Regions from separate parts of the Homo sapiens genome. Here region 2 is linked to region 1. Evidence: promoter capture Hi-C in human tissues and cell types (Jung and others, 2019). All regions are on one chromosome and are shown on one strand. The core of a region is centred on a gene start or on the middle of the fragment in contact, and the rest is flanking DNA. Distances in the headings are between cores, read along the strand shown.

What was found. The method cuts DNA at HindIII sites, captures the fragments that hold promoters and counts their contacts. A contact is called where the count stands out against the background at its distance.
Region 2: a contact is called between a fragment that was not itself captured here and the fragment with the promoter of ACTBL2 in region 1, in 1 of the 25 tissues and cell types used here (dorsolateral prefrontal cortex).

What each region holds. Positions count from the first base shown.
Region 1 is chr5:57,481,378-57,484,077 of GRCh38, forward strand. It overlaps ACTBL2 (actin beta like 2), which reads right to left and starts at 1,434. Exons shown (of 1, transcript NM_001017992.4): 1 at 1-1,434. The coding sequence starts at 1,330. The coding sequence ends at 200. All of the region lies in intron 1 of RMEL3 (enriched in melanoma 3), which reads left to right. The HindIII fragment of the contact is 3,416 bases long and covers 1-2,700 here.
Region 2 is chr5:58,176,004-58,178,703 of GRCh38, forward strand. No RefSeq gene overlaps it. Among named protein-coding and RNA genes, the nearest start is that of LINC02101, 55 kb to the left of the region's middle. The HindIII fragment of the contact is 4,380 bases long and covers 1-2,700 here.

The sequences.
Region 1 (2,700 bases), core at 184-2,683:
ATTCACCTTCACTTGATGGAGAACCGGATGTGGTTATCTGGGTAAGAGCCCAGGTTACTTGGATGGAGAGATGGGTTTGCTGGTTTACACTAGGAAGAGTGACGTATTTACCTCGATTCTACTGAAAGCGGATAAAAGCAGTACCATCACTGTGACCTAGGAAAAGGGAAAATGTAAGCCCACTAATATGGAAGCCCATTCAGAAACATTTTCTGTGAACGATAGGAGGACCAGCCTCATCATATTCCTGCTTACTGATCCACATCTGCTGGAATGTGGACAGGCTGGCAAGGATGGAGCCCCCAATCCAAACAGAATACTTCCGCTCTGGGGGAGCTATGATCTTGATTTTCATGGTGCTGGGTGCCAGGGTTATGATTTCTTTCTGCATCCTGTCAGCAATGCCTGGGTACATGGTGCTCCCTCCAGATAACACGGTGTTGGCATAGAGATCCTTGCGAATATCCACATCGCACTTCATGATAGAGTTGAAGGTTGTCTCATGGATCCCACTGGACTCAATGCCCAGAAAGGAAGGCTGGAAAATGGCTTCAGGGCATCGGAAGCGTTCATTCCCAATGGTGATCACCTGCCCATCAGGAAGTTCATAGCTCCGTTCCGGTGAGGAGGATGCGGCTGCCCTGACCATCTCCTGCTCAAAGTCCAGGGCTACGTAGCACAGCTTCTCTTTGACATCTCGCACAATCTCCCGCTCAGCAGTGGTGGTGAAGTTATAGCCTCGCTCTGTCAGGATCTTCATGAGGTAATCAGTCAGGTCTCTCCCTGCCAGATCCAGGCGTAGAATGGCATGAGGCAGGGCATAACCTTCATAGATGGGCACGATGTGAGTGACCCCATCCCCAGAATCCATCACGATGCCTGTGGTCCGTCCTGAGGCATAGAGGGACAGCACAGCCTGGATGGCGACATACATGGCTGGTGTGTTGAAAGCCTCGAACATGATCTGAGTCATCTTTTCCCGGTTGATCTTGGGGTTCAGGGGTGCCTCGGTGAGGAGGATGGGATGCTCATCTGGTGCCACACGGAGCTCATTGTAGAATGTGTGGTACCAGATCTTTTCCATATCGTCCCAGTTGGTGACCACTCCATGCTCGATAGGATACTTCAGGGTCAGGACGCCTCTCTTGCTCTGAGCCTCATCTCCCACGTAGCAGTCCTTCTGGCCCATGCCTACCATAACGCCCTGGTGTCGAGGACGCCCTATCATGGAGGGGAACACAGCCCGGGGGGCATCGTCACCACCAAAGCCTGCCTTGCACATCCCTGACCCATTATCCACTACCAAGGCAGACAGCTCATTGTCAGTCATGGTGCTGGCTGAGATCTTCCAGACGAGTGAACAGGACAAGTGAATAGACAGTGAGTAAGAGAAAGTGAACAGGCCTAAAACACTCCAGAAATGCTTTCAGACACGGGAGGCTGCACCGGGACCACAGGTATTTAAAGGAACACACTGACTCCGCCCATGTCCTACTCCACCAGTTCCCAGCATTTCTGGATGAGGTCATCTCTGAGGTATTAATGATGGTGATGATTACATAAACAATTAGATCTTTCTACATAAAGAGAAAATTGGCTGCCAAGTGGTCAAATCTCAGGTTCCTGTAATTAGGCAACCCACACATGACCGTCAGCCTGCCTGGTGAGGTCTCTAGATAACTATGATGATGCAGTGGGGGATATAAAAGCAAGATGAAAGAAAGCTGGTGCTAGGTATGGCAACACTGCTGGGAGGAAGGCTCCCTCCTTAGCGTCCCTGAGGATTCACTTTTCCTACACTAGCTTACCTTTTCATTCTTAAGATACTGTTCTGATGAGGGGTCTTACCCTGCAATCTTCACTTTTTCAAGATTTTTGTTTCCATTAGATTCCTAATCCCACAGGGTGTCATCATCGTAGAGACTGTTTTAGTAAATGAAAATAATAAATGGCTAAGGATGGCCTGATGGCTGTAATTACAATGCACTTGTGTCAAGCAAAATGTAGAGATATTTAATAGACTTCTAATCCATCAGAGATCAAGCGAAAGGAATAGAATGATTGCTAAAGTTAACCCATATAGATACTTTTTTCTGATATAAATTTCTAACAACCAAATTTCATTAAACATTTACTGTGTCTAGACATTGTTCATAGAACCAGGTTCATTGGGTCCATGTTAATTGTATAATGACTGAATGTCAACTATTTTGCATGATTTATTAAGATGCAGGTTATAAAAATTTATTTATTTGCAACAACTCTTGAGTTCTGCAACAATGGACAAAATGAAGTGATAAGACAAATTTGAAAAATTATATATTTAAACTAATCCTTAAAACATTTTGATCTTCAAGATACATATACTATATTATAACATTAAACCTCTATGTAGTTATTAAAATCTATACAATTAGAATTATACTAGCTTTCCTTCCATTTCAAGATATATTACACCCTGATCACTTCATAGCAACAATTTGTTTGGGTTCCATGTTTCATATAGAAATACAGACTACCTGAAAAGATGTGTATGATGGTAAAATGTAGGACATCAGCAATGTGTTACAGAGAAATAGCATTTAAGAAAGCTCATTACTTCTGCTCCCCTATGTGTTAGGCGAATAGAATATAATTATCTTTGTGAGCTCTTGTAAAGCAAAGAAATTTTCCATGTCTACATCTGAGTTCTCCAAAATA
Region 2 (2,700 bases), core at 88-2,587, 690 kb after region 1:
CTTGCTTTCTTCTTTTTTGAGGGTACTAGTCATACTGGGTTAGTCCACCCTAATGACCTCATTTTAATTTGATTACCTCTGTAAAAACCCTTTCTCCAGATAAGGCCACATTCTGAGTACTTCAGCATGCAAATTTCGAGGGTGACACAATTCAGCCCATTACATACATAATAAATATAATATAATAAAGTAATATAATAGCAAAAATGTGTGCTTATTTATTATTAATTAATTTAAAAGTATTTATTGAGTACCCACTGTATCCAAAAATCTACACTAAGATACAGTGGCAAACTGGAGAGTCATGGTCCCCATTCTAAGCAAGCTTTCTTTCTAATAGGGGAGTGAGATAATAAACAAATAATTATAAAATTAATAGCTTAATGTATTTATAAAAAGTGCAGTGCCTTGTATATCAAGAAGTAGCAATCTAGTCTGGAAAGGCCAGAAAGTTTCTTTATTATAGATAATATTACTGGCCAGGCGCAGTGGCTCATGCCTGTAATCCCAGCACTTTTGGAGGCTGAGGCGGGTGGATCACCTTAGGTTCGGAGTTCGAGCCCAGCCTGGCCAGTGTGGTGAAACCCCATCTCTACTAAAAATACAAAAACTTAGCCAGGCATGGTGGCGGGCACCTGTAATCCAAGCTACTCAGGAGGCTGAGGCAGGAGAATCATTTGAACCCAGGAGGCAGAGGTTACAGTGAGCCAAGGTGGCGCCATTACACTCTAGCCTGGGCAACAAGAGTAAAACTCCATCTTGAAAAAAAAAATATATATATATGTATATAATATATAATATATATATATATACACACACACACACAGACACACACACACACACATATATATATATATATACACACATATATATAATTAATATTGGGTCTCATATCTAATCTTCATTGATTAAACTATAAACCATTGAAGGGTAAAGCCTGTGTTTTAAATTTCTATGCTGCCTCCAGAGCCAGCTAATGTAGACTTTAAATAGTGTCCTGAAATACTTTTTTTCATGAATCACTCAAAAGCAATTAGCATTTATTAAATCCTTTTGGATTTTCACAATGTTGTGTGTTTATTATTTTTATATCTGCTCCATGCAGTTTGTCTATGTGATACTTTATTAGGCCTATATTAGAATTTACAATGTATAGTCCCCTTCCCTAGTTGTTTAATTTACATGGGCTTCATTTTATGGTCCTGGGAAACAAGAAATAGGTCTGTAATAGTTTAGATAGACTTTTCTTTCCCCAGCATATAGTGTAGTATTGTGCTTAAAACATTTTTACTCAAAAACTACTTACTTGATGGGCTGGCTAATTAATGAAGTTGGCCAGAAAACTGTCACCCATTTCAATGATGGAGGAAAACTAACATGCTAAGAGGGTAAGTGACATTTAAATATCTTGTAAGGGATGGTAAAATAAGATTCTTTGTGTCCTGGCAGATAAAGATTTCTGCTTCTTTTTGAGTTTCTGGTTGCAGATATTTCTTTTCCTATTACGCACTTATGGGAATAATGAAGATGTCTTGAAACATGGCTACTTTTTGCACATATGAGACAACTGGGATAAGATTCACTCCAAAACTCCCGATGATTTTCCTCCCCTTCAAATCAGCAAGCAGTGCAGGCTTCTCAAGGGGAAGTATGGGAAACAGAGATAGCGGGTACCCTCTCAAAGAGCAAGCGTCTCAGAAAAGATGATGTGTCAAAACAGAGAAATCAGGAATTGAATTGTACCACTACCCAAAATGCCCATATTATGACCAGTTTTGCAATGAGTAGGTCTCTGATATATATGCTTAGAAAACTCTCTTACATTTATACATATTGATGGAAAGAGTTACCATAAAGTAACGCTCATATGTCGTATGTGCAAAACACAGCTAATTTGAAAATCAATTTTTCTCATATTACTTGCAAATTAACTCTTTTTTTTTTTTAGATAGTCTTGCTCTGTTGCCCAGGCTGGAGTGCAGTGGTGCAATCTCAGCTGACTGCAACCTCCGCCTCCTGGGTTCAAGCGATTCTTGTGCCTCAGCCTCCCGAGTAGCTGGGACTACGGGCGGACGCCACCATGCCCAGCTAATTTTTGTAGTTTTAGTAGAAACGGGGTTTCAGTATGTTGGCCAGGCTGATCTCGAACTCCTGACCTCAAGTAATCCACCCACCTCAGCCTCCCAAGGTGCTGGGATTACAGGTATGAACTACTGCACCCGGCCAGATGAACTCTCTTAATAATAATACTATATCATTATTACTTTGCTAGCTGTAGTTGGAACTACAAGTTGTAGCAGTGATTATTAAAATTTCTTGTTAATGGGACAAAAAGAGCTAAGGTTTTATCACCAAGGACTGACAAAATAGTTCTAGGATCCATTGACAAGAGAAAACCCATACCCCTACCTAGGATAGGAGGCTGGAAAAGATTTGGTCAGTAGGCTAGAAGAAGTTTGTTATTGAAATAAGTAGTAAAGATGACGCCTAGATGGATTCATTGGTTCAAGAGTTTAAGAGAAATAGAGTACAAGAGTATAACTACATGGCCTTCTGAAGAGACACTAGACAATGATTAGAAGTAGGTAATACAAGGGTCTAAGGCAAGGATGTAATGGGTGGTAAAGGATGAGGAACAGGCTAAACTAGAGCAGCTGAACAGAAAGATATGGGATTTCCAGAACTCCAATTATGTTAGAT